7 separate regions of the Homo sapiens genome follow, and regions 1, 2, 3, 4, 6 and 7 are each linked to region 5. The links are contacts of gene promoters, found by promoter capture Hi-C in blood cells and fetal thymus (Javierre and others, 2016). All regions are on one chromosome and are shown on one strand. Each heading gives the region's core, a stretch centred on a gene start or on the middle of the fragment in contact. The rest is flanking DNA. Distances are from core to core; before and after follow the strand shown.

Evidence for each region. The method cuts DNA at HindIII sites, captures the fragments that hold promoters and counts their contacts. A CHiCAGO score of 5 or more calls a contact.
Region 1: a contact is called between a fragment that was not itself captured here and the fragment with the promoter of TPD52L3 in region 5, in 1 of 17 cell types (endothelial precursors). The highest score is 5.4, in endothelial precursors.
Region 2: a contact is called between a fragment that was not itself captured here and the fragment with the promoter of TPD52L3 in region 5, in 1 of 17 cell types (endothelial precursors). The highest score is 7.3, in endothelial precursors.
Region 3: a contact is called between a fragment that was not itself captured here and the fragment with the promoter of TPD52L3 in region 5, in 1 of 17 cell types (endothelial precursors). The highest score is 5.9, in endothelial precursors.
Region 4: a contact is called between a fragment that was not itself captured here and the fragment with the promoter of TPD52L3 in region 5, in 1 of 17 cell types (endothelial precursors). The highest score is 5.2, in endothelial precursors.
Region 6: a contact is called between a fragment that was not itself captured here and the fragment with the promoter of TPD52L3 in region 5, in 1 of 17 cell types (endothelial precursors). The highest score is 6.8, in endothelial precursors.
Region 7: a contact is called between a fragment that was not itself captured here and the fragment with the promoter of TPD52L3 in region 5, in 1 of 17 cell types (endothelial precursors). The highest score is 6.3, in endothelial precursors.

What each region holds. Positions count from the first base shown.
Region 1 is chr9:6,688,575-6,691,274 of GRCh38, forward strand. No RefSeq gene overlaps it. Among named protein-coding and RNA genes, the nearest start is that of LINC02851, 14 kb to the right of the region's middle. The HindIII fragment of the contact is 455 bases long and covers 1,155-1,609 here.
Region 2 is chr9:6,657,462-6,660,161 of GRCh38, forward strand. No RefSeq gene overlaps it. Among named protein-coding and RNA genes, the nearest start is that of GLDC, 13 kb to the left of the region's middle. The HindIII fragment of the contact is 7,884 bases long and covers 1-2,700 here.
Region 3 is chr9:6,718,154-6,720,853 of GRCh38, forward strand. LOC124902117 (a long non-coding RNA gene) reads left to right here. Exons shown (of 4, transcript XR_007061412.1): 2 at 1-828; 3 at 918-1,001; 4 at 2,269-2,311. Among named protein-coding and RNA genes, the nearest start is that of LINC02851, 15 kb to the left of the region's middle. The HindIII fragment of the contact is 2,775 bases long and covers 1-2,670 here.
Region 4 is chr9:5,828,794-5,831,493 of GRCh38, forward strand. ERMP1 (endoplasmic reticulum metallopeptidase 1) reads right to left here. Exons shown (of 15, transcript NM_024896.3): 2 at 1,934-2,235. Among named protein-coding and RNA genes, the nearest start is that of ERMP1, 3.0 kb to the right of the region's middle. The HindIII fragment of the contact is 1,773 bases long and covers 557-2,329 here.
Region 5 is chr9:6,327,070-6,329,769 of GRCh38, forward strand. It overlaps TPD52L3 (TPD52 like 3), which reads left to right and starts at 1,306. Exons shown (of 2, transcript NM_001001874.3): 1 at 1,306-1,893. The coding sequence starts at 1,527. LOC107987046 (a long non-coding RNA gene) reads right to left here and starts at 1,199. Exons shown (of 3, transcript XR_001746614.2): 1 at 1,132-1,199. The HindIII fragment of the contact is 1,804 bases long and covers 45-1,848 here.
Region 6 is chr9:5,894,388-5,897,183 of GRCh38, forward strand. All of the region lies in intron 2 of MLANA (melan-A), which reads left to right. It also overlaps a transcript of BRD10 not described here. Among named protein-coding and RNA genes, the nearest start is that of MLANA, 4.9 kb to the left of the region's middle. The HindIII fragment of the contact is 1,303 bases long and covers 772-2,074 here.
Region 7 is chr9:5,877,905-5,880,604 of GRCh38, forward strand. It overlaps a transcript of BRD10 not described here. Among named protein-coding and RNA genes, the nearest start is that of MLANA, 12 kb to the right of the region's middle. RefSeq lists an enhancer at 1,717-2,218. The HindIII fragment of the contact is 709 bases long and covers 1,024-1,732 here.

The DNA of each region.
Region 1 (2,700 bases), core at 132-2,631, 360 kb after region 5:
TATTGGGGGAGGGGAAAGGAGAGGTTCCTGCAGATTCCCAAACAAATGTCAGAAAGGCAAAATAGCCAGCATTCTCCATTTGCTTTTTTGGGTTTACTGGGTGAATAGCACTTCCCTTACATAGGCATCTGATTTCAGGTTTTTCATACTGAGAACATTGAGATTTCAGCTGGAAGACACCCTGAAATCTTCTGAGTAGCATACCTCAACCACCCTCTAATAACTGACTTGTTTGTATAGGCAGAACGATTCATCTCTCCATTTTAGATGGCTAGATAAAACTACATCATTATTGATTATAGTCACTCTATTGTGCAGTAAATCTCAAAGCCTTCTATCTGAAATTTTGCACCCTTTGATTAACAATTCCCCATTCTCCTCGTCTCCACTCTCCCCAGCCTCTGGTAGCCATCATTCTACTATCTGCTGCTATGAATTTGACATGTTTGGATTCCACATATAAGTGAGATCATGTAGTATTTGTCTTTCTATACCTGGCTTATTTCACTTAGCATAATGTTTTCCAGATTCATCCATCTTGTCACAAATGATGGTATTTACCTACATTTTTGTTTTTGGAGACAGGGTCTCACTTTGTTGTCCAGGTTGGAGTGCAGTGGTACAAACACAGCTCACTGCAACCTCAACCTTGACCAGGCTCAAGTGATCCTCTCACCTCAGCCCCCCAAGTAGCTGGGACTACAGGCGTGAACCACCACACCCTGCTAATTTTTTTTTGTTTTTGATACGGAGCCTCACTCTGTCACCAGGATGGAGTACAGTGGTGCCATCTTGTCTCACTGCAACCTCTGCCTCCCAGGTTCAAGCAATTCTCCTGCCTCAGCCTCCTGAGTAGCTGGGATTACAGGTGCACACCACCACGGTCAGCTAATTTTTGTATTTTTAGTAGAGACAGGGTTTAACCATGTTGGCCAGGATGGTCTCAATCTCTTGCCCTCGTGATCCTCCCGCCTCAGCCTCCCAAAGTGCTGGGATTACAGGCATGAACCACCGTGCCCGGCCTGGACTTTTTTCTTTTTTTTGAGACAGGGTCTCACTATGTTGCTCAGGCTGGAGTGCAGTGGCGCAGTCTCAGCTCACCGCAACCTCTGCCTCCCAGGTTCAAGCGATTCTCCTGTTTCAGTCTCCCAAGAAGCTTGGGATTACAGGTGCCTGCCACCATGCCCAGTTAATTTTTGTATTTTTAGTAGAGACAGGGTTTCACCACATTGGCCAGGCTGGTCTTGAACTCCTGACCTCAGGTGATCTGCCTGCCTCAGCCTTCCAAAGTGCTGGGATTACATGCTTGAGCCAACGCGCCTAGCCAAAAAGGACTTCTATAGGAAGGACAAATAGGTTTCTCTAAAAAAGACAAATGTGTTTTTAGAAGAACAAATGGGAGACATGCAAACATTATCACAAACCAAACTTTCTTATATAGGTGTGAGTGGTCTTTTTCAGGTTCATAAAACTGCCAGAGAGGGGATTTATGGTAGGTTTATTCTGGGTCTCTCCCCTGGGAGTAGAAGCCACCCCAAACAGGAAATTTATGTCCGTCCTCATTTCTCAGAAGTTTCTACTTTTAATCAAATAAGGGAAGTCCCAAGGAAGCTTCTTTCTGCATCTGTTCCATCTCAAATGTCTTCAGCTTAAAATAATCTTTATACTAACTCCAGTGTTCTGAGTGGGACCCCACAATTGTATATTTAATCACCTTGTGAAACTTGACAAGTATTTAACCCAACATTTTCTGATTTGGAATATTTTAGAGAATGTGATTCATTAATAAATCATTTATCAAAAAAAGAGATCATTGGTTTGACAGTGCTGGGCTTACAGGCATGGGCCACCATGCCCGGCCAGCAGTATGTATTTTAGTTGACTGGCAAACAGACAATTGTTCCCTTTTTTCCTTTTTTAAATTTCAAGCCTTGTCACTGTGTCATAAGACAATTGTTCATGATGTCATAAATGTAATTTTTACTTCAATAAACTATAATACACTTGTAACATTCCAGGCTCTTTTTATTGTGTGTGTGTGTGTGTGTTCTTTTTTAAATTTTTAATTATTGGCTGGGCACAGTGTCTCATGCCTGTAATCCTAGCACTTTGGGACGCCAAAGCAGGTGAATCACTTGAGGTCAGGAGTTCAAGACCAGCCTGGGCAACATGGTGAAACCGCGTCTCTACTAAAAATACAAAAATTAGCTGGGTGTGGTGACACACATTTGTAATTGCAGCTACTCAGGAGGCTGAGGAATGAGAATCACTTGAACCCGGGAGATGGAGGTTTCAGTGAGCCGAAATCGCACCAGTGCACACCGGTCTAGGTGACAGAATGAGAATCTGTCTCAAAATAAAAAAAAATGGTTTTCAGGCCTTTCTTTTTTTTGTTAGAGACAGGATTTCACTCTGTCTCCCAGACTGGAGTGCAGTGACACAATCATAGTTCACTGCAGCCTTGAGCTGTTGGGCTCAGGGAATCCTGCCTCAGCCTCTTGAGTGGCTGGGACTACAAGCATGCCACGATGCCTAGCTATTTTTATTTATTTTTTATTTTTATTTATTTATTTTTGAAACAGAGTCTTGCTTTGTCACCCAGGCTGGAATGCAGTGGTGCGATCTGGCTCACTGCAACCTCCGCCTCCTGGGTTCAAGCAATTCTCCTGCCTCAGCCTCCTGAGTAGCTGGGACTACAGG
Region 2 (2,700 bases), core at 14-2,513, 330 kb after region 5:
ATTACCTGAGGCTTGGAGTTCGAGACCAGCCTGACCAACATGGTGAAACCCCCGTCTCTACTAAAAATACAAAAACTAGCCGGGCATGGTGGTGGGCATCTGTAATCCAAACTACTCAGGAGGCTGAGGCAGAAGAATCACTTGAACCTGGAGGCGAAGGTTGCAGTGAGCTGAGATCGCACCATTGCACTCCAGCCTGGGTGATAGAGCAAGACTGTGTCTCAAAAACAATACTGTTGCCCAGACTGGAGTGCAGTGGCGCGATCTCGGCTCACTGCAACCTCCGCCTCCCGGTTTCAAGCGATTCTCCTGCCTCAGCCTCCTGAGTGGCTGGGACTACAGGCCCATGCCACCATAACCTGGCTAATTTTTCTATTTTAGTAGACCCGGGGTTTCACTGTGTTGGCCAGGCTGGTCTCAAACTCCTGACCTCAGGTGATCCGCCTTTCTCGGCCTCCCAAAGTGCTGGGATTACAGGCGTGAGCCACCACGCCCAACCAATTTTTTTGTGTGGTTTTAAAGACAGGATCTCCCTCTGTCACCCAGGCTGGAGTACAGTGACATGATCATAGCTTATTGTAGCCTCTGACTCCTAGGCTCAAAAGATATTCCCATTTCAGCCTTCCAAGTAGCTGGAAATACAGGCACATGCCACCACTCCCAGCTTTGAAGTGTGTTGTTGTTGTTTTTAATAAAACTTTTTTTTAATGCAATGGATTTTTTTAGTTTTGTTTTGTTTTGAGACTGGGTCTTGCTCCATTGCCCAAGCTGGAGTGCCGTGGTGCGATCTTGGTTCACCACAACCTTGCCTTCCCGGAATCAAGCAATCCTCCCGCCTCAGCAGCACCTGCCCTCCCCACTGGGAAGCTAGGACTACAGGTGCTCACCACCATGCCCAGCTAATTTTTATATTTTTTGTAGAGATGGAGTTTCACCATGTTCCCCAGGCTGGTCTCGAACTCCTGGCCTCAAGCAGTCAGCCCCCGTTGACCTCCCAAAGTGCTGGGATGACAGGTGTGAGCCACTGCACCTGGCCCAATGTGTTTTTTAATGGAAAAAAAAATCGCACAGAAGACATTCATGCCCTGGCCAAGTCAGGGGGCTACCCCAAGTAAATCGTGATTTGCTGTGGGAATGGGAGCTGGATCTCAGTCCTGACCAAGATCCCTATGGATGAGTCCCGGCTCTGCCACTTACTGAAAATGTACATTGTAGCAGTTTACTTAACTTTATTCTGCCTCTGTTTCTCATTTGTAAAATACAGTCATTGTGAGTTTTGAATAAGTCATCATTTCCTTCCCTTCTTCTTCTTATACTACCAGAGTGTTAGTCTTTGCAAACCCAAATATTTAAAGAGACTGCTATTTTTATTTGCTTTTATCACAATGTTCCTAACTTGGGTAAATCAACATGATGCAATAAGATCAAGACCTCTTTGGTCGTTTACTGGGCTGAAATCTTGTAATAAATGCTCACAAGATATCAAATGGCAAAAACTATATCATTCAAAAGATGTGAGTATTATAAATCCAGAGTAATGTCTGGTACAGAATAAGAGAATTGGGGGGTACTTTAGCCACCCCCTAATCTCTGATACATATCTTTATATTAAATATCATGGATGGGCTGATTTGATGCCAGTCCCCTAGGTATTGAGCAAGTTGTGTAACCTCCGCAAACTCCTCCTGCAAGATCCAGGTCAGGAGCAGCCACTCAGACCCTAGGCTGAGCACGAATGCTAGAGGTTGGACCATTAGGAAGAAACAAGTCAGCACCTAGGCATCCTTTTACACAGGTTTTCAAAAAGACCCACTTACACACCTATCTGCCAGGGAGGTTCTGCTTTTCTTTTTTATTTTTATTTTTATTTATTTATTTATTTATTTTGAGACGGAGTCTCGCTCTGTCGCCCAGGCTGGAGTGCAGTGGCGCGATCTTGGCTCACTGCAAGCTCCGCCTCCCGGGTTCACGCCATTCTCCTGCCTCAGCCTCCCGAGTAGCTGGGAATACAGGCGCCTGCACTGCGCCCGGCTAATTTTTTTTTTTGTATTTTTAGTAGAGACGGGGTTTCACCGCGGTCTCGATCTCCTGACCTCGTAATCCGCCCGCCTCAGCCTTCCAAAGTGCTGGGATTACAGGCGTGAGCCACCGCGCCGGGCCTTTTTTTTTTTTTTGAGACGGAGTCTTGCTCTGTCGCCCAGGCTGGAGTGCAGTGGGGCGATTTCTGCTCACTGCAAGCTCCGCCTCCCGGGTTCACTCCATTCTCCTGCCTCAACCTCCCAAGTAGCTGGGATTACAGATGCCCGCGACCACGCCCGTCTAATTTTTTTTGTATTTTTAGTAGAGACGGGGTTTCACCGTGTTAGCCAGGATGGTCTCGATCTCCTGACCTCGTGATCCGCCCGCCTCGGCCTCCCAAAGTGCTGTGATTACAGGTTCCCACCACCACGCCCAGCTAATTTTTTTTGTATTTTTAGTAGAGACGGGGTTTCACCGTGTTAGCCAGGATGGTCTCGATCTCCTGACCTCGTGATCCGCCCGCCTCGGCCTCCCAAAGTGCTGTGATTACAGGTTCCCACCACCACGCCCAGCTAATTTTTTTTGTATTTTTAGTAGAGACGGGGTTTCACCGTGTTAGCCAGGATGGTCTCGATCTCCTGACCTCGTGATCCGCCCGCCTTGGCCTCCCAAAGTGCTGGG
Region 3 (2,700 bases), core at 33-2,532, 390 kb after region 5:
ACCTCCATCTATTGATTTACAATTTTGCCTGTAACTTTGGCTTTCCTGAAATTTACCCCAGCCTTAAAAAAAAAAAAGAACAGAAAAAGAAAACTGCAAGGCATCAGGGAGGTCAGAATTTGGGCATGAGCTGCCTGATCCTCCTTGCTTTGCATCTTTGCAAATAGATGCCTTCAGCTGTGCATGATGGCTCACACCTCTCATCCCAGCACTTTGGGAGGGCAAGGCGGGAGGATTGCTCCATCCCAGGAGTTCGAGATCAGGGGCAAAATGCCGAAACCCTGTCTCTACAAAAAATTAAAAAATTAGCTGGGCATGATGGTGCACTTCTGTAGTCCCAGCTACTTGGGAGGCTGAGGCAGGGGGATTGCTTGAGCCCAAGAGGTTGAGGCTACATGAGCCATCATCGTGCCACTGCACTCCAGCCTGGGAAACAGAATGAGACCCTGTCTCAAAACAAAACATTTGAAAAATAACAAGTTCAGGTGCAGTGGCTCATACCTGTAATCCCAGCACTTTGGGAGGCCAAAGTGGTCGGATCACTTGAGGCCAGGAGTTCATGACCAGCCTGGCCAACATGGCAAAACCCCATCTCTACTAAAAATACAAAAATTAGCTGGGTGTGGTGGCTGGCAACTCTAGTCCCAGCTACTCCGGAGGCTGAGGCAGGAAAATCACTTGAACCCAGGAGGCGGAGGTTGAAGTGAGCCGAGATCACACCACTGCACTCCAGCCTGGGCAACAGAGCAAGACTCTGTCTCCAAAAATAACAAAAAATAAATACATGCCTTCCTTTCTACTGCTGCACAACCTCACTGTGTCAGGCAGGTGAGTGGACCCCAGTTAGGTTCTATAACACCTGGGCGAGGGTTTTTAGTATGGTAATAAGACTTAGCCACATTTTGTATCCATCTCAGGCATCTCTGGATCCAGCTGGTTTTTGTTTTGCTGAGGCTCAGCTTCTTCCTGGAACTTTTTGAAACAACACTCAAGGGTCTCAAGTGGGTATTTTTTCATGTTGTATACCCAAAAACCTGAAAACCCAGGGCCCTGGGTTACAGTATTTCCACGTCGTATACCCAAAAACCTGAAAACCTGGGGACCCTGGGTTCCAGTATTTCCTGGCGATCTTACCCACTACCACCATCTAGTCAATTTGAACCACCTCCTCAACCACCTATGAGGGCCTAAACACTCTTTCACTCCCTTTCCTGCCAGCACCCCTCAAGCTGATAAAAATACTTTGGTCTTTAAAGCCGACTGGAAATGCTGAGTCAAAATCAAATTTGGAATATTTAAAGTGGATTCAAAAATATTTCAGCAATGCAGACAATTGTGAATAATGAAGCTGTTGGTAATATATGTCTTGATATCCTATACAACAAACAAATTGTCTGAATATGTACGAGTGATTATTTTTTTCTTTTGTTTTTTTTTTTTTGAGATGGAGTTTAGCTCTTGTCGCCTAGGCTGGAGTGCAATGGCACGATCTTGGCTCACTGCAACCTCCGCCTCCCGGGTTCAAGCAATTTCCTGCCCCAGCCTCCCGAGTAGCTGGGATTACAGGTGCCTGCCACCACGGCCGGCTAATTTTGTATTTTTAGTAGAGATGGAGTTTCAGCATGTTGGCCAGTCTGGTCTCGAACTCCTGATCTCAGGTGATCTGCCCACCTCAGCCTCCCAAAGTGCTGGGATTACAGGCATGAGCCACTGCACCTGGCCCCTTTTTCTTATTTTTCATTACCAACAGTTTGCCCTGACAGATATACCAGTGATTTTTTGAAAACTGTGCAGTCACGGTTATTGTTGAGCCATATAATCTTGCACTTTTCAGTCCTGCAGGGCAAAAAGATTATAACAGAATGACCCCCACAGCTATCCACAATCGGATGTATTAATTTTTTTTTTTTTTTTTTTTGAGACGGAATTCACTCTGTTGCCTAGGCTGGAGTGCAATGGCACGCGACCTCGGCTCACTGCAACCTCCGCCTCCTGGGTTGAAGCGATTCTCCTGCCTCAGCCTCCCAAGTAGCTGGGATTACAGCCGTTTGCCACCACGCCCAGCTAATTTTTGTATTTTTAGTAGAGACGGGGTTTCACCATGCTGGCCAGGATGGTCTCGAACTCCTGACCTCAGGCGATCTGCCCGCCTCAGCCTCCCAAAGTGTTGGGATTACAGGTGTGAGCCACCGTGCCCAGCTAGATGTATTAATATTTATAGTTTATCTTCTTTTTTTTTTGAGATGGAGTTTTGCTCTTATTGCCCAGGCTGGAGTGCAATGGTGCGATCTCGGCTCACTGCAACCTCGGCTCTCTGCAACCTCTGCCTCCTGGGTTCAAGTGATTCTTCTGCCTCAGACTCCCAAGTAGCTGGGATTACAGGCATGTGCTACCACTCCCGGATTATTTTCTATTTTTAGTACAGACCAGGTTTCTCCATGTTGGTCAGACTGGTCTCAAACTCCCTACCTCAAGTGATCTGCCCACCTCGGCCTCCCAAAGTGCTGGGATTAAAGGCGTGAGTCACCACCCCTGGCCTTATAGTTTATCTTCTAGTGGTCTTCTATCCTCATTTGAAAATGTGAAAAGTGGGTACCTGAGATAATTCACCGACTCATTGTTTCTTGGAACCACAATTGATCTCAGAAGTGTAACCCTGTACTACTGAGAAGCTTAATCAAGGACAAATACAATCCCCTC
Region 4 (2,700 bases), core at 193-2,692, 500 kb before region 5:
CTTTTGTCCCTACATTTGCTGCTAATTCTTGTATATACAGCCTTCTTATATAATGTTCTTAAGCAACCATGGTGTTTATTTGCCGCTTCCCAGAATTTAAGCATCATAATAGTGGGCAAAGAGTGACATTTATTACTGCTTTGAAATGGACATAAAAAAACCACTGGTGGCCGGGCACAGTGGCTCACACCTATAATCTCAGAAATTTGGGAGACTGAGGTAGGCGGATCACTTGAGGTCAGGAGTTCAAGACCAGCCTGGCCAACATGGTGAAACCCTGTCGCTGCCAAAAATACAAAAAAAATCAGCCGAGTGTGGTGGCACAGTAGGAGAATCGCTTAAACCCGGGAGGCAGAGGATGCAGTGAGCCAAGATTGTGCCACTGCATGCCAGCCTGGTGACAGAGTGAGACTTGGCCCCCCAGCCAAAAAAAAAAAAAAAAAAACACTAAACCACTGGTTACCCCAGCAGCACACGAAGGTACTTCTGGCTTATTTAACAAACGTGTGTATACTGATTTTTGAAAATGCAAGTTACATTCTAAACGCAATTGTCAAGCTTTCTAAATGAAGATATTCTAATATGAATCATTTTATCAAGCAAATAAATTTTACTTACATTTTGTATAACTCTAGACGTTCAAATTTGGCCTGCTATAAGTTCGAGTAATCCAGAAGTGTTAATATTACATAAGAGTTAATAAAAACTTTTAAAAATCACTTTCCATGCCAGGTACTATTTTAGCGTTTTACTTATTTTTAATCCTCCAAGCAACACTATTAGGAAAGTACTATTATTTTCTCCATTACACAGATGAGAAACTAAGAAGTTAAGCAATTTGCAAAAGGGAGTATTAATTACACCCTAATATTCTTTTTCCTTTCAAATGTAGCTGAAAGAACTGACTGGCCAGGAAATCCAGCATCTTATCCTAGTTTTGTCTCTGATCAGCGATGACCAGCTAGCTAAATGTACTCCTGTATCAAATGAGGGGTTCAGCCAGATGCCATCTCAGGTCTTGTCTACCACTAAAATGCTATGCCATTGTAAATGCTATTTTCCATCCCTATTTACAATCCCTTTAACCACTGAATACAATTTTCTGAAAAATAAATATTTTAATAAATGGAAGTTCAATTTAGGGGATTCCCATTCATTTGACAAATATATACTGCATCAGGCACTGTCCTAAATGCAAGTATTCTATTTTGCCAAATGATTTTCAGAGAAAGATTTACACATTAATTAGGTACTTTAACAGTATGGCACCCTCAGTGGAGCAAAATTCTCACTTTATAGGTCAACAGAATCTGCTAGAAGAGATATCCGCCAACCCGCAGCCCAGGACAGCTTTGAATGCAGCCCAATACAAATTTGTAAACTTTCTTAAAACATGAGTTTTTTTTTTTAAGCTCATCAGCCATCATTAGTGTATATTATGTGTGGCCCATGACAATTCTTCTTCTTCCAATGTGGCCCAGGGCAGCCAAAAGATTGGACACCCCTGCTCTAAAACCATGCAGTAACCCTTGAAGGCAGGGACTGTCCTTATGTGGTATCCCCAAAGCCTAGTATAACACCCAGCTGAGTAAAACACTTTCTAAGTGTCAGAACCTAACTCCAGGACACTAGGACACACACACTGTCTGGTAACATTGAGAAAGCTGCTTCAGTCTACCAGAAACATTCCAAGTCTTATCACTGGGCTGCTGGCATTAACACCAAAAAATAATATTAATAAAGCACTTAAGAGAAGACAGAATGGTTAGATCCTAAACTAAATGATACTATCCTAATTATCCTGCTTTCCATCACAAAGAAAAAAGGTTTGCCCAAGAAAATGGTCCCCACAATTGCCCAAGTAGCTTGGGGTTATGTTAATAAACTTTCTGGGCTGTGACAAGTTCCAAATGACTAAAAAACAGGTACATACCTGGTGAGTTTGCTACTGAGTCAAAATGACAATTAGCCAAGACAGCATGCTGGGCTCCATCTCTGGGTTCCAGCTTTACCACAACATTGGTGATGTTGTCATAATAGCTTGTAAAACCTCCCAAGAAATCAATGCTAAAAGAGCCTGTGGGCCGTTGTACATCTACTGAAATCTTATGAAGGCTGTTGCTTTGCACTTCAATCAGTTTAATCTGTTCCAAAAGGTAGTGCACGGTCAGAATTTCATTTTCTGGACTTCCTGTAGTCCTGGGGCCAATGGAGGTTATGTGTTCAAGATAATCCCTGGAAGTAACCAAAAGAATAACAAAGGTTTGTAGTTAAAATTGACACTTAGCGTGGGTAACTTTTCCACTACACACCCCTTCCTCCCCAAAAAAGCTTAGTTCTTTGCCTTATATAAAAGGGACCGCCTTTCATTATTTCAGACACCAAGTGAACATCACTTATAAAGTTCCATATTTTTATTGTTGCCTCCCACGAGTTGACCCCTTCAGTTTTCTCCACCATCCCACTCCCAACTTCTCCCCATATCAAACCAATACAAGGACTAGGGATGTATTCAAAACGTGTGACCACTGGCCAGGCACGGTGGCTCACGCCTGTAATCCCAGGACTTTCGGAGGCTGAGGTGGGTGGATTGCTTGAGCTCAGGAGTTTGAGACCAGCCTGGGCAACATGGTGAAACCCCATCTCTTCTAAAACTACAAAAACTAGCCAGATGTAGACTACTATCCGCCTGTAGTCCCA
Region 5 (2,700 bases), core at 56-2,555:
AAGGCTTAATAAAAGATTTCATAGTATACACTGAAGGATGAGGAAGCTTATAAAGAAAATAGGCATCAAGGTTGGTGGTTGAAATAATACAGAGAAGTAAAATCAAGTGCAAGTTCAGATTTGGTGATTTGGAGTCTCAACTTTGAAGAGACAATGTGTGTTCTATATTATGTAGCATAATTCAGGGATTTCTTTACCCTTTAGTCTCAGGTTTGAAAGAGGAGTTCTGATTCAGAGTCTGGGAGTGTTCCTGAAACCACTAGTGTTTCTACAGGCAATAGAGGAAAAGTCTACCCTCTGGAACAAATTGGTTTTTAGGGAGTCCTTGCTGCCCTTTTCAGGCCTTTAAACACATAGCCAAATCCTCCATCAGCCTTCATGTTTACAAGAACAATTCTCACTTTTTAACTTAGGGAAACACACCACTCAGGACAAGGCAATAATAAACACTACTAAATTATGTGAAAGGGTTATAGAACATAAACTCAAAGGAGGGCTGAAGTTGGTTTGAATGCACAGCTGGATGCTTCATTGTAGCCACATAGGCATGAGTAGGGCAAACTGCTGAAATTTGCTGAGGATCAAATTATGTTCCACAAGATCATGCTCGCAAGAATTACAAGAATATCCAACAAAATCACTAGAGTCTAAGACTTGCTCAAGAATATTCTCTGAGAATAGGCAGCCATAGAATGAGCTAAGTGAAGCTCGACCACAAGACCTCACTGGATTAACGTCCTGATTTTTCCATTGCATAAGTTTACTCTCGGCAGAATTACGGTTGGGGGGAGGTTGGGGTGGCAGGTTGGCAGGGGAGAGTGGATCCACACTCTGATAGATCCTATTTAACTAGTTTTACTTTACTGTGCAGACTACCTCCCACAACAGGTAACCTTGAATGTAGGCAGACATGCTTCCAGAAATGTGAGTGGAGGTAGGGCGGAATAAAGAAAATGCAACTGCAAAACTGAAAATTCATACTAGCACAATGATGTTTAAATGATTTTCAAGTGTTGGAGCTGGTGTGGTGGAAAACAGTTGCCTGACGCTTTGGTTTGAAGGCCAGGGCTTGTCATTTACCATGTCAGGAGAAATTCCTCTCTTTTCGACAATAATCTCTGCACTGCCTACCTCAGGAGGTCCTCGCAATGCCAAAATGCCGCCAGTGTGGGTTGCGCCTCAGCTGAGCACTGATTCTACAGCCTCGCGGTTTGGGCGGGAAGTCCCACCTCCGCAACCCTGACCAGCCCGGCTCCCCACCCCCACCACCCGGAAGTGAACACCACGAGCTAGCGTGTCTACTTCACAGGCCAGGTCGTCAACTCAACTGTCAAGGTGTCCATTGTACCAGCTGGGCCATGGATCCCTCCCGCCTGAAATCTGACTCCACCTGCCAAGAGTCTGAGCCTGCAGGCCTAGATTTCGACTCTGCTGGCCAAGATTATTTCTCTGCAGCCCAATAATTCGACTCTTTCTACCAAGAATTGGACCTGGACTCTCTTAACGAAGATCTTCTTTCCCAGTCCATGCCACATGCCAGGACAGAGACCTCTGTGGGCACATATGAATCCCACTCGACTTCTGAACTGGAGGATCTGACAGAGCCCGAGCAAAGAGAGCTCAAAACCAAACTCACTAAATTGGAGGCTGAAATTGTAACCCTACGCCACGTACTAGCAGCCAAAGAGAGACGCTGTGGGGAACTCAAGAGGAAGTTAGGCCTCACCGCCTTGGTAGGGCTGAGACAGAATCTGTCCAAGAGCTGGCTTGATGTTCAGGTCTCCAACACCTATGTGAAACAGAAGACATCAGCTGCTCTGTCCACCATGGGCACTCTCATCTGCAGGAAGCTTGGAGGCGTGAAGAAGTCGGCCACATTCAGATCTTTTGAAGGTCTGATGGGGACAATCAAGTCCAAAGTCTCAGGGGGCAAAAGAGCTTGGCCCTGACTGTCTTTCTTCTGCGGAGGGTGGGGTTGATCTGCTCTCAGTTTTGGGGTGTGGGGAAGACCCACTCCAGATTCCGGGGAGTGGGAATGAGCCACTCCCAGTTCTGGAGAGTGAGGATGACCATCTCCACTTTCTGGAACCAGAATGAGCCCCCTTGGTAACCTTGCCTGGTACTAAACCAGTGCAAGGACCCCCTTCCCTTATTACATTTGCAACTCTGCCCAACAAAAACAAGCAAGCAAACCACAATGGTAAAGTGGTTAATTCAGGAAATTGACAGAATCCAGTTTTGAGAAAAGAACACAGATATTTGCTGCTTTTAAGATAGAGAACCCAAAGTTTTGTACCTGGTTATTTTTCACTTAAGTTTGTAGACGAAATGTGCCATTATATTAGCTTTCCTGAGACTGTATCTAATGGGCAAGTCAGTGGCTCCAGAGGGGTCTTAGGCCAAAGCCCAAACTCTCTTTTGGAAAACTAGCTTATTAGAAAGCCAAAGTAGAGTTCTGTTTAAGCTTGAAAGAGGTATGAAGTAATCTGTAGTGTTTTTTTGGTTTGTTTGTTTGTTTTCCCTTCCCCATTTCCTTCCTTCCCTCAGTCTCAAAGTCACCTTGAAAGCTTCACCTGGCCTACAACTTTTATTTTAAAAAGATGATCAAGAAAACTTCATCTTCTCTGAGACTCAGAAAAAGAGGGGAAAATAGTGGTAGTGCACTAATTGTTACATTACTAATATAGCTTTTGTAAAACT
Region 6 (2,796 bases), core at 173-2,672, 430 kb before region 5:
GCAACCAAGGCTGTACCCACAGAATGCTGCTTCTACCCCCGTGTCTGGGGTAACAAACGGAAGGGTGAGGCCATCAGGACCTAGAGTTGGGAGGAGGGACGCCACAGAAATGGGACCCAGATCTCTAAGGAGAGATTTTTGTTTGGCTGGTTCTGGTGTCTCAAGAGCTTAGAAGTGAGGGGCATGAATCAAATACTCAGGCCTCTGAGGTCAGCCAGTGCTCTGCTGGGGAGGGGCATAATGAAGCTGGCTCTGACAATGCCGGAAAACGAGCTGGTGCTTGGCATATACAGACAATGTGAGCATTGCTGGGGTGATCCTGACAGGAGCCAGAAGCACACTGGAAGGAGCTGCTCCTTCTTGATGCCCCAGGTTTGTAGGCACCCTCTAGAGTACTCTAATGGGAGCCAGTGGGCAAAGGAGAAGTGGCATTTGCAGAGTCCAGTCCCAGCATCACAGAGCAGAGCATAGAAAGGTAGGTTTGGAGTTGAGGGACAATGGCTTAATAAAGGGCAAAGGGGGTTATGACCACTATCATGTGAAGGAACCCCTTGACTGAAGGCACAAGCTTTCTGTGTCTTGCAACCTGAATGACGTGCATAAGCAGGGTCAGGTGGGTTATCTGACATTTTCCTTGAGAACAAGAGGGAGCCTCTGGATTCCAGCACAAAAGAAAAATACCCACTCAACCCGTATGCGTGGGAGCTATCCTTTAAAGAGAAAGTAATTCCTTTTGACATTTTGCTGTCTGTAGAAGGGTCAGATGGCCAAAGCTTCCAGCACAATGAAACACTTAACTTCAGTCTGTGAGTGTAGGAACCCCTGAATACATGGAACATCATCATCTTGTGCAGGTACTGAAGGAGATCGGTCCAGAAAATAAGTAACTGCACATGGCCACCAATGTCAAAAGTCATTCCTCTCATGAAAAGTCCCTGCCCCCATTGCTGTTTGTTTAAATAGGTGGGATGGAGGTAGGGGAATGGGGCCATCTTCTTTTTTTTTTTTTAATTTTTTTGCATAAAATCCAGATCCTGCACAATGGGGCAATCTTCATTAAAACAATGCATCCCTAAGATCTGAGAATATTTATCCTTCTCACAATTGTGCCAGCAGGTGGAATGAAGAAGAATGATGCAAAATAAGTTCCCACATCCAGCCAAGAAGGACTACATACCTGCTTTGGGTATTATGTATCTCTTTGAAACCTCAGTGGAGAGCAGTTCTCACAGTTGGGTGGACACAAGTCATCCATGGAACTTGTTAAAATGCAGATTTCTAGGTGCTGCCACCTAAGAGGCTGATTGGGTAGGCCAGGGGTGGAGTCCTATGATCTGCACCTTAACGTGCATCTCAGGTGATTCTGCTGCAGGTGGTATTTGGAAGACACTCTGAGGCGCCCTGCCAAGCTGGGCAGTGGGTTCTTCCAATGTGTCAGGCATACCCTGGTGCTTTTCGCTCTCAGTTACTTGGGCATGTTGTGAGTACCACGTGACCATGCATAAAGTGCTGTAACAGAGCTCTGACTGTGTCAAGATATTCAAGTGGACGCCACAGGGTAAAATGAGAGCACAGGCATGTTGGGAGTTGAATCAGCTGCCTTCAGTCACGAGAACACACTGAACACTCCTTGTGACAGCTTCAGTTCAGGAAAGAGTGACTCTGCAGGAAAAGCACTGGCCTGGGAGACCTGGATCTGGCCCAAATTCTGGTGCTCACTTGCTTGGTCTCCCGTTCCAGTTGCTGTGAATGTTGGTTCTGCCACTTGCTGGTTGTGCAGCCCTGGGCACTTGACCAGCATAATGTCAGCTGTAAAATGAACATCATTCCTAACTCCGAGGACTGTGGTTAGGATGAAATAAAAGCATATATGTGGGGGTGCCTAGCCCAGTGCCTGGCACAAATTGGTGCTCAATGAATGGTAGTCACTATGGTTATGGTAATGTTGATGAATCTTCATAGGTCTCAGCTTCCTGATCTATAAAGCGGGTGGACTGACCTACATAAGTCAGAGTTTCCATCTAGCACTGTCATCCCATGGTTCGCTCTATCCTGTTTGGAGACGGACAGGATAAGCTTGATGTCTCCTCAGCCTTGAGACAGAAGTTGTCCAGTAGATGGTACTGAGCAAAAGTCTCTCCAGCAGAAGCCTTAGTTAAACCTTGCTTCTCCTGTAGCTGCTCAGTCTCTTGTAAGTCACTCAGCTCTGCAGAAACTTTCTTAGCGAGTTGACAACCACAGATAACAGAGTCAGTTCTGTCGATTTTGATCATGCTGTGATCAGGCAGATGTTAGCTAATTGATGATGCTTGCCCGGAGTGAACAGCTCCAGGCCCTGTTTCCAGGGTCTTTGTGGTAACTTTGTGGTAACTGTAATGCTTCCCAGGGGTCACTGAACACAGGGCCCAAGAGGCTGGTGTAGACCCCCAGATTGGCACCCTGCTGCTTAGACAAGATCCTTCTCAATAAGTAATGCCACAGCTTTGCTGTAGGTTCAGCCCAGACACTTCTCCCTAGGGCTGCAAGGAGCAAAGCGGGGAGTTTAGGGAAGGGAGGGCACGAACATAATTGAGACGGATTCAGGTTCAAATCCAGCCTCTGTTTTGTGCTAGCTCTGTATGATCACCAGCGAGTCATGTATCCTCTGCCTTTTATTTCCTCTTCTGTGAAAATAGGGGATGATAAATTGTGTCTACCCTCCAGTGTTGATGTGAGAATTGAATAAGCTAATGAATGTTTAGCACAGCACCTGGCTTTTAGTAGATGAGTCAGTGTTAATTTCTATTTTCTCTTTGT
Region 7 (2,700 bases), core at 128-2,627, 450 kb before region 5:
TGCCTTCGAAAACATGTGTTCATGTGATGTAGACTATTAGAGGTTCAGAAAGGGAAACAGCAACTCAACAAGCTTTGGTGACTACTGAATCCAGTCCTTGGCATATCATAGGAGCTCAAGAAATGTTATGGACTAGTTGAAAGGATCTGGGCAATGCCTCTGTTAGAAATTATTTATCACCAGGACCAGTTAAAAATCAGTGTCTTCATTTATTTATTTACTTTTATTCATTCAAGAAATATCTATTGAGTCCCTACTGATAATGGAAAGGTGAATGAGTCAGTCCCTGCTCCTGAGAACATTAAGGAATAATCAACATGGAGGGTCCCTGGAACCAATGTTACTAAATAAATAACCGACCCTGGGGAAGAGCAACCATACTTAAAAGGCATCTTATGCTGGACTGTGTTTAGTTCCTGAGAAGTGTCCCCCTTGGGGAGGCACCATGTATAAGAATGGGAGTTGGGCCATTTGCCAGTTACTACTTATGTAATCCTAAATTATCTAAACTCATGAGCCTCATTCTCCTCTGTAAAAGGGGTGTAATAATCACACCTACCTGACAGCGCTGCTGTGAGGATTTGAGAAGAATATGAAATAATCCATGTAATAATCAGTTTGCTCAGTTTCTGGCACTCAGTAAGAAGACATACATTTAGTAGATATTTATGGGCTGAGCTCCTTGTGGAAAGGGATTACATTTTAGTCTCTTTGTTAACTACTTCGAGGAATAGGCCCATCAATCACACAAGAGGTGGGATCTATAATGACTCTTCATAATGATGTGGCCCAAAGAGTGTTTCTTGGAGCACCAAAGCCAACAAACACTTTCTTCATAATTAAATAGTTCGAGAAACTCTGCTGGCAATGCAACTGTCTTCTCTTGAAGATTCATAAGGTATATCAGTAGATTAAGGATGTTAGAAGAGTTTGTAATGAAGAAACCTGTTTAACTTTATTTAGTTCAGTGTTTTCCAATCTTATCGGACCAATAATGTACCCTGGAAGAACCCAAACTCCTGAAGCTTCAACTTGGAAGGAGATTCTGGGCAGAGAGATGGTTGATGCCAGAGCTCCTGCCTCTCCTGAGGGTTTCTTCTCCCCCATGGAGTTCTCACTTTACTCTCTGCTGTTGCCATCTATTGACTTCCAGGGTTGTTCTGACGCCTCATTAAAACTCACAGTAGAGCTGATGCTGGCTGAAATATTACAAAGACTTTGCTAAACATCAGAGGGACTTCCAGAAGAATACAAAGAAACATCAAGAAACACATCAGGCTGGGTGCGGTGGCTCACACCTGTAATTCCAGCACTTTAGGAGGCTGAGGTGGGCAGATCACTTTAGGTCAGGAGTTCGAGACCAGCCTGGCCAACATGGTGAAACCCCATCTCTACTAAAAATAAAAAAATTATCCGGGTGTGATGGTGCACTCCAGCCTGGGAAGGGCAACAGAGCAAGACTCTGTCTCAAAAAAAAAAGAGAGAAAGAAAAAGAGAAAAAAGAAACACATCAAAGCCTGATGGGAGTTGCAGCCCCCACACAGCCGGCTGCTGGCAGGCATTGTCCCCTTGAGACCCTGCCTCCTTTTCATCCCTAAAGGGCTGGTTGACCCATGATCAACCCAATCCCAATCCCCAATGCCAGCGGCCCCAAAGGAACCTGACCCTTGATGACCGCCCACACTGGTCTGGTGGCCACCGCTGGCTCTTTAAGATATGCTTGGGCCCTTGAAGCTTCTCTTAATTAACTGACAAGCAGACACTGGGCTGGACCAATTAAATGAGCTCAGGGATGACTCACTGGAAGGAAATGCAGAGATACAGAACCAGATAATCTGACTCACATGGTCAGCCTCTCTAGGTTCTAGCTTATTTACCTGCAGAATGTCAGAGATAATGGATTTATCCGACCTCTGACTATAATTCTAAAAAATCCCATAGCTCGGATCTCCCTGTCAGATAATAAGTCAGTTCTACTGAATTATTTTTTAATGTAACAAGACAAAAATGCTACGTAGAACTTACTTCTTTCTGAGACAGAATCTCGCTCTGTCTCCCAAGCTGGAGTGCAGTGGTATGATCTCAGCTCACTGCAACCTCCGCCTCCCGGGTTCCAGAGATTCTCCAACTTCAACCTCCCAAGTAGCTGGGATTACAGGCACACAGCACCATGCCCAGCTAACTTTTTTTATTTTTAGTAGAGACAGGGTTTCACCATGTTGGCCAGGCTGGTCTCACTCCTGACCTCAAGAGTTCTGTCCACCTCAGCCTCCCAAAGTGCTGGGATTACAGGTGTGAGCCATCACACCCCACCAGAAGTTTCTTTAAAAATAAAAAATAAAAAAACAAGCCAAATCCCAGCACTTTGGGAGGCTGAGGTGGGCGAATCACAAGGTGAAGAGTTAGAGACCAGCCGGACCAACATGGTGAAACCCTGTCTCTACTAAAAACACAAAAATTAGCCGGGCGTCATGGCACGCGCCTGTAATCCCAGCTACTCAGGAGGCTGATGCAGGAGAGAACTGCTTCAACCTGGGAGACGGAGGTTGCAGTGAGCTGAGATCCCGCCACTGCACTCCAGCCTCGGCAACAGAGTGAGACTCTGTCTCAAACAAACAAACAAAAACAAAAAACAAACAAACAAAAAAACACTGAAGTTCTTTAGCTCTTAAAAAGTCTGAATTAGTTTTCCCCACACAG